Regions from separate parts of the Homo sapiens genome. Here region 1 is linked to region 2. The links are contacts of gene promoters, found by promoter capture Hi-C in blood cells and fetal thymus (Javierre and others, 2016). All regions are on one chromosome and are shown on one strand. The core of a region is centred on a gene start or on the middle of the fragment in contact, and the rest is flanking DNA. Distances in the headings are between cores, read along the strand shown. Region 1 holds the start of ALDH1B1 (aldehyde dehydrogenase 1 family member B1). Region 2 holds the start of ANKRD18A (ankyrin repeat domain 18A).

The links. Contacts are between HindIII fragments. The CHiCAGO score rates a contact against its expected background, and 5 or more counts as called.
Region 1: the fragment with the promoter of ALDH1B1 here is called in contact with the fragment with the promoter of ANKRD18A in region 2 in 10 of 17 cell types (total CD4 T cells, non-activated CD4 T cells, total CD8 T cells and 7 more); the score reaches 10.1 in total CD4 T cells.

Annotation. Positions count from the first base shown.
Region 1 is chr9:38,390,733-38,395,331 of GRCh38, reverse strand. It overlaps ALDH1B1 (aldehyde dehydrogenase 1 family member B1), which reads right to left and starts at 2,630. Exons shown (of 2, transcript NM_000692.5): 1 at 2,525-2,630. RefSeq lists enhancers at 2,154-2,243, 2,284-2,333 and a silencer at 2,544-2,863. The HindIII fragment of the contact is 5,526 bases long and covers 1-3,177 here.
Region 2 is chr9:38,616,057-38,623,004 of GRCh38, reverse strand. It overlaps ANKRD18A (ankyrin repeat domain 18A), which reads left to right and starts at 2,409. Exons shown (of 16, transcript NM_147195.4): 1 at 2,409-2,925. The coding sequence starts at 2,720. It overlaps FAM201A (family with sequence similarity 201 member A), which reads right to left and starts at 1,917. Exons shown (of 2, transcript NR_027294.1): 1 at 1,640-1,917; 2 at 1-1,173. RefSeq lists enhancers at 782-991, 1,644-1,763. The HindIII fragment of the contact is 5,020 bases long and covers 306-5,325 here.

The DNA of each region.
Region 1 (4,599 bases), core at 1,381-3,880, 230 kb after region 2:
AACTTATTTTTCTGTTCCATTCACTGCTACGTCCCCGAGCCTAGAGGTATGCCTGCTACAGAGCAGCGGCTCAACACACAGTACTGAATGATACACTGAGAAAACACTGAAATTGCCACAAAGGCTGTCTAAGAATTGACCTAAGACTTGAGTAGAAATCAAAGGGACTTGGAGATGGTTGTTCTCTGAGAGGGACTTGCTTCATTTCACCTCTGTGCCTCAGTTCCCCCATATGTGAAATGCCTCATGGGGTTATGTTGAATGATGTCTTGCATATAAAAACCCTGGCAAGCTCCACTCAGGACATCAGAACTGGCCGTGCCTCAGAAATTGACCTAGCCCAGCATCCCCCAACCACAGGTCTCAGCATCCCTTTTCAGCTTTCCCAGAGGTGCAGCAAGTCAGGAGGCAGCTGAGAAGAAAAGCTACAACTCTGAAGAGTGTAGACTTCGTTAAAACAACTACTGTTATAAAACTTAAACGGCATATAATACATATTAAATGAAAATTAAACAGAGTGTAGTGTTCCCAGATTAGTTGAAGCAGTTATTCTTCAGTCAGAATTTGAATCTCTCTGCCTTTGATGTCTCATGAGTCTTGCTCCGCCCAGCGGTAAAATGGAATTGCACCTGCCTGTCCCTTCACCCCCAGCCTCTCACCCTCCACCCCTGGGCAGGGAGAGGAACAAAAAACTCAATCAGGAAAGCAAGGCTCCATGTAGGTCCCCGGCCCCATAAAAATCAATGTGATGGGCGTGGTGGCTTACGCTGGTAACGCTTTGGTAGGCCGAAGTGGAAGGACTGCTTGAGGCCAGGAGTTTGAGACCAGCCTGAGCACATAGCAAGAACCGTGTCTCTACAAAAAAACAAAAATAAATTTGCCGAGCATAGTGGTGCATGCCTGTAGTTCTAGCTGCTTGGGAGGCTGAGGTGGGGGCAATCACCTGAGCCCAGGAGGTTGAGGCTGCAGTGAGCCATGATTGTGCCACTGCACTCCAGCCTGGGTAACAGAACAAGACTGTATCTAAAAAAAATAATAATAATCAATGCTGACCAAGAAAGTTTCCCTTCCCCTTGCGGGTGTTAGGAATAATGCTCAAAATCCTAAGGAAATTGAACACTCGAACACAGGATTCTTAGCAAAGCAATTTTACTTCTGCGCAGAGGGATGCCTCCTTGGCCAGTTGCCATGAGAGCACACCTGAACAAAGGGGCACGAGAGCCTTTATTCCTGATGCAAGTCCTGCCCCTGTACCCTTTCCCCATTGGCTGGGGTCAGGTCGTACAATCTAAACTAATCCCGGTTGGCTAAACATTTGATTTATTTTAGATAGAGTGGGCACGTAAAAGAAAGTGGAGAGAAAGGGGAAAGGGTGTCTGTAATGAGCTAGAAAGTTAGTCTTCTTTCCAAATAAGCAAAGGAATGTGAGCTGGTACTGATAACGCTTGGTACTGTGGCATGCCTGGGCATCTAACAAAGGCAAAAAGGAGAAAAATGAAAAAAAAAAAGGGGGGGATACTAAGAATTAAAGAATAAAAGATTGATCAGATTATTTGAAGAGAAACCTCATCATATCCCACAGGGGGAAGCTGAGTCAGCAGATCTGCCAGGGGTGCCCAGGGTTCCATTTAGCTCAGGACTTTGCCATATGCTGGGACACAGCCCCCTTGCCACCAACAGGCCTGGCTCTGAGGGTGAGGAGACCAAAAGGAGGTAGGGGAAAGGGGAGTCACCAACCCATGGGGTAAGGATTGGAGGGGTGAAGCAGTCAGGAGAGGTGGTCATAGGCCAAGGCTGGCAAACCTTTGCAGCCACACCAAGGCCGTTCCTACTCTTGGGGCCTATATGGGGTTCTTGCTGGGGCCTCCACTTGCTGATAGGAAGATCACAGCTCACAGAGCATCATGCTTTACAGTTTGCAGGCTGTCTTCTCACGGGAAATTTGCCAAGCCTCTCTGCAGTCCCTGGGTGGTCAGGGTTGATGATGACCCCCATTCTGGAAGAAGGCTGGGCATCAGAGAGGTTCAGGGACTCACCGAGGACACACAGCAAGAAAGTATAGGAGCCTCACCCCAGACTTCCACAAACCTAGCTTTGCATATCCTCCTGAATACAGGCAATTTTTTACAGTTCACCCACAGCGGGAAGGACCGGACCTTCTCTATCCGCGGGAACTGCAGCGGCGCCCACCTCACCCCTTCTGCGGGGGAAAGGGCGCAACCTTTGGGCTTGTCCAAGCCTCTGGGCTATGGTCAGGGGCCCTCTGTTGAAGTGGGCCGAGTGGGCAGGAGTGTTGAGGTCGAGCTAACGTGGTAAGGTCTGGGGGCGTCTGTGTCCTCGGGGCTCCTGTAGCGTCACCCAGAGGCGGGGGATGGGATTAGGGGACGTGGAGAGAGTCCTACAGTGCAACGGCGGAAAGGCCAGCCCCCAGATGCGGACGCCGCGGCCCAGAGAGGAAAGCCCCCACGCGGAGCCAGGAGCTGCGGCTTCCCGAGGGAGCCGAGGGGAGACCAGCGTTAGTTACCTGCAGCAGGCTCGGGCTCCGGTTCAGGATCACGCTTGGGTTCTGGTTCCGGCCCTCCCAGCTCTGTCCACATGGCCGCCCAGGGCTGGCCGCAGGTCCCGCCTCCGCGCAGCCCGGGGCTCAGCGGCCAATGAGGCTCCGCCTGCGCCTGGGGCGCTGCCTACGTCCTGTCGCCGGCCAAGGCCGCTCCTCCCTCGCCCCGCCCGGTCTTTCCCGGTCCCCGCCCCTCTACCCCCGGCAGCCCGCACCGCTTCAGCGCTCCCTCCCTCGGGTCTCCGCAAGCCCAGTGTCCACGTTGCTCAGATCTAGGCTCCTAAGGCACTGGTTTGGGAGCGGAAACAGAGATACCCAGAGAGGGGCAGGGGCTTCCCCAGGTCACACAGCAAAGTTTTCGGAGACCGAACCCCAACTACACTTTGCATTTCTCCCCGCTGCAAGACGCTGCTTAATCGACTGCCATCCTTGAGACTCCCCTTAACCCCTTCTCTGCCTCGCCTCTCCCTCACTTTTTTTGTCCAGGATTCACTAATTTCTGTCCTCCACTTTCACTGCTCCTTTCTTCAGTTCCTTCAAGAAGATTTTATATTTGGGCATTTTTCAAAGTACATTTTTGTCCTAAGGACAAAAAGAATGTATGCACAGTGTAGAAAGCTTGGAAAACACAGGAAAGGATGAAAAAAGAAGAAAAATATCACCTGTAATCTCTTCACCTACGGTAGCCATTATTACGGTGTTCGTCCTGCTAGTATTGTTTCCTCTGCATCTTTCAAAATTATTTTAATAAAAATAAAATCATATAGTAACCTCTGTTGTGCTGCTTTAAAAAAAATTTAAAAACTTAGCGCTGTATTTTGAAGTTTTCTCCTATCACTAATTACAGATGACATCATCCTCTCCAAGGTGGCATAGAATTCTGTTGTAGGGGTAAACTGTTGGACATTTAATTGTCTCCATTTTGTTGCTATAAAGGTTGCCAAGATGGACCACTGAACATGCATCTCACTCGCTCCACCCTCGCTGCACCTTCCTTCTGGCTAGGGAGGTCCCAAAGCTAACCGCCATGTTTCCCAGCCTCATTTGCAGTTAGAGTTCTGGATGTGGACTAGGTGCTGCCAATTAGTAGTACTCTGCCGGATGTGGAAGGCGGGCACGCATTGGAGGGTATTGTCCTGCCCCTGTAGGGTGGCACTAGCAGGATAGCAGAAATGGGAGATGTTCTGCGGCAGCATTCCTTGTCCCTTCTCCAGCTTTCTGGCTGTGGACCGGCCGCTGTGGCTGTAGCCGCTCCTTGACCTGGCTTCCTGCTCTTTGAATGGAGGCTGCAGGAGGGTGTCTGAAGTAGCCTCAGACAGGCACGAGGCTGGTGGGCCACGTCCATATTGTCCTGAGAGTTGGTCCTGGTCTGGCTAAGGCTTGCTTCTGCCTCCGGCACTTGCAGCAGGTCTGTAAGCACCCAGTTCCTTGTATTAAATCCCTGCCTCTCCACTGATCTAGGGTGCTCACATGCGACTGCTTGGACCTAATTCACTTAGTTCTTTCCTTAAGCTACATCTCTATGGAATCTTTTGCTACCATATCATCCTTAGCATGTTCACAGCCCTTGCTGCAAAAGTTAGCCATCCATGAAGGCACTATGATTGGCATCTTATCACCTTGATGCCCATGCTTTCCTCGGGTTTCTCCAGCAACGGCATGAGCCCCTTGCCAAGGCCCTCCTGCCTCCCCCACAGCACGTGGACAGCCTAGCTCCCCTTGGGCACTTGGCATAGCACTCCAGGACTGATTGACTTAATGATTAACTGACCAATCCTTAAGAGGCCTCATTGATAGAGGGAGTGAGTTTATGGCAAAATGAGTATCAGTCCTCGTGTTAGAGTGCATTGGAAACTGTGGCAGGTCTGAGAGGCCAGCTGCAGACAGGAAGTGACCCCCATGCGGCAAGGTTGGAGGCTGTGCCCCTTGAGGAGCAGCTGAAGGAACTGGGATGTTCACCCTTTAGAACTTGAAAGACAAGGCTGTGCCGTCCAAATCTCTGAAGGGCAAAACCAGATAGGATCTGTGGGGTCCTAGAAGGC
Region 2 (6,948 bases), core at 1,160-3,659:
AACTTTGGGTTTGGCAATTACTTTGTAGATACAACAGTAAAGTACATAAAAGACAAATTTCTACCATGAAAGAAGATATTGGTATGAAGTCGTTACAATTAAAAACTTTTGCTCTGGGAAAGGAAATAAGAGAATGGAGAAACAAGCCACAGACGGAGAAAATATTTGCAAAACACCTGTCTGGCATCCAGACCATTAAAAACCACTTACAACTCAACAATAAGAAATCGAACAACCCAATTAGTAAATGGACGAAAGATCTAAAGAGGCTCCCATCAGAGATGGCATATAGAAGGGGAAAAGCTTATGAAAAGATGTTTGCCCTCCCAACGCTTTTCCCTCCCTGCGTCCCTCTCCCTCACACACCCTCCGCTGCAGCGGAGTGGGAGCGGGTCAGGGGCGCTAGGCGGTGACGGTGACGGTGACGTGCTGTCTCTCGGGCGAGGCGTGGGATTTAAGCGCATTATAAGCCGTGGGTCCCGGGGAATCCGAGAGGCTGAGCTTGGAGCCCAGACTGACCCGCCTCTCTCATGGTCCCGGCCCACTGCCCTGCAGAGCCCGCCTTACTCTTCCTCTCCACAGGTCTGCTGTGGCTCCACCAAGCCTGGTAGGCCCACAAGGAGCTGCATCCAGCAGGAGCCGCCGCCCGGGAACAAGCTACCCGCGGGCTCTGGGGACAACCGCCCGTCTGATGAGCTCGGCTGAGCGTGCACGCAATGTCGAAATCAAGGACGCCTGGATGCTTTTCATGGCAGAGTGACAAAAGTTTACCAACAAGAAGAGGAGCAGGGCTGCTGAAAGGTGCGGTGCCGCGGCGCCAGAATGCGGGATCCTGAGCCCTGCATGCGAGTCTTCGCGGGGCCGATCGCTGCGAGCCTCGCTTAGGTCCAGCCGCCTCCAGGGAGGGCAATATCCACGAGACGCGGGGAGTGAGGGCGGTGCTGGCCGCACCCCTGGTCCTGGGGCCGCGGGAGCCGTGCTAGCAGGCCGCCTTCCACTGCCGCCTGCGCCGGGTCGGGTTGCTGCAGCGGTGCCCGCTGCAGGAGCTCCGCGCCTGCTGCTTCTCCGACGTCAGGGCGCCGCCAGGATGACAGGTGCAGGAGGCTGCGGCTGTGGGCAGATGTGGTTTCCAGCCCCAGGTCCCGGCGGCCCCTGGCTTCCCAGCCCGCTGTCCTGTGGGCAAGAAGATGAAGAAAGTCACCCCATCAGCAGGTCAGCTGCCCCGCCTGGCAGCCCAGCCAGACAAGGCAACCGAAGTTCATCCTGTCTGAGTTGACTTTGTGCAGGCAGCGGGCCGGCGCCCAGGATGCTGGGGAGCCCTGCGCGCCGGAGGCCGACAAGCCGTGGGGCCCAGAGGCGCCACAGGGCGAGAAGGCACCCGCCTCCCAGCGCTTTCACCCCCCGGCCCGCCCGACCCGCTAGGTGTAGCAGTGGCTGCGGCCAAGCCAGGCATTCTGCCCGGCGGCGGCTGCACAGGGGCGAAAACTGAGAACCCCTGCTCAACCCCATCCGGAGTGACTGCCAAGTGCCCATGCCAGCGACCCCGATCCCCCTCCGGTGGAGGAATGGGCGGGAGGCACGGCCTGGGGGCCCTCAGGCTGGGCGCGCTGGCGATCCCGAGGCCGACCAGGCCATGCACCTCCAGCCCGCCTGGGCACCCAAGCTGCATCCGCCTTCTGTGTGCAGGCAGCAGCCTCCAGGCAACCCCCGAGCCCGCCAGCACTCCCCACATCTCAGAACCGGGGCCAGATGTCCCTGTGGCTGCGGCTGAGCTAGGTGGTCTGCCCTGCAGCGGGAACCGGCTCTCAGCCCCATTCCCCGTGGCTGCAGAGGGCCACTGGCTAGAGGTCCCGAGCTTCAGCAGACGAGGAGCCGAGCAGGGGCAGGGCCTGGCGGGCTCTCAGGCCAGGTGCACTCGCGATCCAGAGGCCGCCTAGGCCGTGCTCCACCACCTGGGCGCCCAAGCTGCAGGCGCCCTCTACCTGCTGGCGACAGCTGCCTGGCAACTCCCAAGATGGCTGGCGCTCCCAGCCTGGCAGAACCGGGGCTACATGTCGCCCTGGCTGCGGCCAAGCCAGGCGGTCTACCCGGCGGCGGCTGCACCGGGACAGGAACCGACCCCCCAGTCCCATCCCCGGTGGCTGCGGAGGGCCCCTGTCAGCGGCCCCGATCTCTCTTCGGAGGAGGAGCGGGTCGGGAGTCAGGGCCAGGCAGGCCCTCAGGCGGGAAGGGATGCACTCCTGGGATTCCGGGACGTCCCGCGGGAGCCCAGGAGAACCCGCAAGCCAGCGACGCGTGCGCCCGTGCTGCAGGTGCCCCCTGCCGGCCACGAGGGCTTGGGAGCGGCTTCCGGAGTCCCGGCTGGCGCTGAGTTGTAGGCGCGCGCCTAACTGGCATCGCGGGGACTCACTCGGTCTGAGAGTTCGGAGCGCTGAGGTTCAGGCGCGCGCCTAACGGCTTAGCTGGGCTCACTCGGTCTGAGAGGTCGGAGTCTGCGAGTGTCGCTGCTGAAGGCTGTGGTGGACCGGGCTGGATCGCGGATTCTGAGCTACATTGCGGGTTTGGGGGTGGATCTTGGATTTGGGGGTGGATCGCGGGTTGCGGGGGGGATCGCGGGTTGCGGGGGAGATCGCGGATTTGGGGCGGAGTGGGGGTGGAAAGGCCACGAGGAGCCGCCGCGGCTCAGGAGCGGGTGGTGGGCGTCTGAGAAGTCGCCACCATGAGGAAGCTCTTCAGCTTCGGGAGACGCCTGGGCCAGGCGCTCCTGAGCTCCATGGACCAAGAGTATGCGGGTCCGGGTTACGACATTCGGGACTGGGAACTGCGGAAGATCCACAGGGCTGCCATCAAGGGCGACGCCGCGGAGGTGGAGCGCTGCCTGACGCGCAGGTTCCGGGACTTGGACGCCCGCGACAGAAAAGACAGGTAGCTCGGGGACTCAGCCCGCGGTGGGAGGGGGCCGCAGGCCCGGCTTCCCTGCAGCCCGGCAGCCCCTGGGGCGGGGACCTTGGAGGGCGCCGGGCACCCTCGGAGCAGCGGAGCCAAATGGAGCCTCAGCTGCTTTCCGTCGCTGGCAATTCCCCGTCCGTCGCGCTTGGTGGAAAATTTGAGTGATTTAACTCACAAAGTTAGGCATATCCACGTTTAAAACATGGGGCCATATACATGATAGGGAGGTGCCTAATGAGAACTCATTCCCCTGTCAAAAATACCATGAGCCTTTTTCAGTAGGCGAAGAGTTCTCAGATAAAACCCTGTGTCGGTTTTACATCCGAATCCACCTAGGTAGACAGGTTCTTTACTGGAGCTTCTTAGAGGGACACTGGGAAGCGCGAGGTGGGTTCCTTGAATGGGAAGACTCAGTTTTCTCAAAATATGAACTGTTTCCATGTTTATCAGTTTTACATAAACTGAATGAAGATATCAAGGTTTTATCATTTTTGCATGACACTTGCTATCTATCTTACCATTGTGATGACATTTAAAAATGTTTATAATGGAGTGAAAAGACTTGCTCCTCTAGATATCAAAATGTGCTATTAATTCCCACAATTAATTATTTACTAACAGCTGAAAACACAGATAAATAAATGGAACAGAACAGGAAATCCAAAAACACTGAAATATATGTAAGATATATACATAGGGATGGATAATGGTAACGTTTCAGATGAGTAGGAAAAGATGAGTTATTAATAAAATGCCTGCTGTGTGAAGAAAACTAATGAAACTTTATGTCGCAAAAATGGGTTCCTGATGGAATTCAGACTGAAATTTTTACACATGCAAAATGAGAAAAAGTACCAGAAGAAAACGCAAAGACTTATTTATACAGGTACATTTTATGTTAACAAAGGCCTTCGTAAGAATGACCTCGCAAGCAGGCATTCTGAAAGTTGATTTAGCAAACTAAAAATTAAAATCCCCTGTGTATCAGAAAAAAATTAACAAAAGATAACACACTCGAAAAATATTTCCTATATATATTTTTACTAATATATAAAAATATATATTCAGATGAAAAGTGTATCTTCATCCTACAGGGAATTTATTCTTTATTATATATAATACATATTACTGATTATATGTATAAGAAATTGTATATATTACTAATATAATGTGTTATATATATATATCAGTTATATATATACAGATAAAAAGCACATCTTTATTTTACAGGGAATTCTTTCCAATCAAATCCACAAGAAAAGAACTCTAGAAGTGAGCAAAGCACTTTTTGCAGATTCACAAGTTACTTATGTACATAGGAAAAAATCCTTAGTGTTTCTCATAAGATAAGTTAAAAGAGGAGTGAGACTGTGTTCTATCCACAGTGTTTGTGAGAATGAAGAGCAGTGGCACTTACACTGCTGCTTGAAGTTTAAGTTGCTGATGACTTTTCAAGTGGATAATTTGGAGATAATTACCACATTTTAAAAATGTATATGCCCTTTACCCATCAATTCCATTGTATTAAAATACCTTCAGAAAATAGAGATACATGCACTTTTTTTCCCCAGCATTTATGTTAACAAGAACCCATAGAATGGTATGTGGCCATTGAAGGTGGCAATAGGTGGAGAAGTATGTTGATATGTGAAGATGCATTTTGTTACAGCCAGTGAGGAAAAACAAATCAGTTTGCTTGCACATACACACAAACATACTATGGTCTGGTGTTAGGCAATACTATGCACAAAATAGGATAAAATTTGTAACTTCTGAGCATTTGTATTTTAAAGTTTTTTGTTCCTTTTTCTTACCTTTGATTTCTGAAGTGAGCATTTATAAAATTTCTAGTAAAAATTTATTATTAATGGAATAAATTTTGGGAAGAGAAATATGACTCTTGAACAGATAAAAATAATTTCTCACTATTTTTTATCATTATTATTGTGAGGGTTTGAACTTTTAGCTTCTTCAGAAGTAAAAAGGGAATCTTTTTATCTGTGCTTGCAGATTTTATGTATATACTTTATTATGTATATATGTTTTTCTTATGTATAGATTCATTACATATAGGCAAACAATGATAGATTAATCATTTCATTATAGTTGTAGTCTTATCAAAATAACAAATAGCAAATATTATTACTATCACAAAAATATTGGTTTATAGAAGTTGTATTTAAAAATATTGAGCTCCCCAACTGTATTCTATCAATCCATTTATTCATCAAACATAACTCGAATATGTTATGTAGCAAACATTTTGCACTATCTCTCAGGACCCTTCCATACTTAAAAACTTTATGTTTACCTGTTCTGCCTGAGCAAGATGAGAGATTTAAAATAGGAATAGTAGAACTTAATCTCACTGAAGCTTTTCCTCCCACCTTTCAAGCAAAAGCCTTTCTGAAGGTAGAAAACAATAAGAGATAACCTTTAACTGCCCTTTTGAAAATTTATCAGTCTTAAATACTAATATTAATCATTGGAAAGTCTGATTTGCATATATTCTGTAAATCTAAGTGTTGACTAAAATGAGCCATACCTGTTCATCTCAATCATGAGTTTCCTTTAGCTTCACGTTTCTTTTTGTTTGTTTGTTTGTTTTTTCGTTTTGCGACAGAGTCTCACTCTGTCGCCTATGCTGGAGTGCAGTGGCGTGATCTCAGCTCACTGCAACCTCTGCTGCCAAGGTTCAAGTGATTATCCTGCCTCAGCCTCCCGAGTAGCTGGGATTACAGGTGCCTGCCACCGCACCCAGCTAATTTTTGTAGTTTTAGTAGAGACAGAGTTTCACTATGTTGGCCAGGCTGGTCCTGAACTCCTGACCTAGAGATCCACCTGCCTCGGCCTCCCAAAGTGCTGGGATCACAGGCGTGAGCCACTGGGCCCGGCCAGCTTCCCATTTTTAAAAATCAAAGTAAGAAGTAATTTGTTTAAAAAATATGTTGTTATTTCAGTGCTCTTTCCCCATGGTACTTTGAGGAATTAAAATGTATTTAAGTGTCAATTAGATTCCTAGAATTGCCCTAGACCTGCTGTGTATACAGTATTCTACTTAATGTAAGACCTCATGGATTGTGTGATACCCTACTATTTTCTATATTAATAAGATGATTTTTAAATGCTACCAATTATAAATGCTACCATATAAAAATTATGAATTATAAATACCACTCCAATATCAGATATGCTAAAATGTGACCTAATCTTTAAATCATCCTGCAAAATAGCAATAATTGTATCATTTTACTTAATTAAAATATTTTTGTTAAATACTAGTAATATAATTATAACATCTGGCTGAGTGCATGGCTCACACCTGTCATTCCAGAACTTTGGAAGGCTGAGGTGGGAAGTTCCCATGATGCTAGGAGTTTGAGACCAGCCTGGGCAACAAGGTGACATTCCTACTCTACAAAAAAAAATTTAAAAATTAGCTGATCATGCTGGTGCACTCCTGTGGTCCCAGCTATTCAGGAGGCTGGGGCAGGAGGTTTGCTTGAGCCTACAAGTGCCAGGCTGCAGTGAGGTATAAATACACCATTGCACTCCAGCCTGGGCAACAGAGCAAGACCGTGTCTCAACAAACAAAAGTCTAACAGTTATTGAGTTGTTGCTTGTTCTGGAAACAGTTCTAAATGCTTTACATAGATTTTCATTTAAGCATCACAGTGGTGTCCTGTGAGCTAGCTGCTGTGGTCATCTTTATTAATGAGGAAATTCAGGCACAGAAAGGCTAAGCAATAGCTGGTACGTGACCGAGTTCAAAGTAGAACTCAAGCCCTAGTTAAGCTGAATCCAAACACCAAGCTCATTCTATCCAAATAGGCTGCTGTTTCATTAAGGTAGGGAGCAGTAAGAGCTAATAAATATTGTACTTTCTTCAAAAGAAAATTATTTGTTTTGAAGGCAGAGGAATAATGCCATTCAATGTTTACAATGACATGGACCATTGTAGGTTTTGAGATATTGCACTACATTTCCTGAAAACCCCTC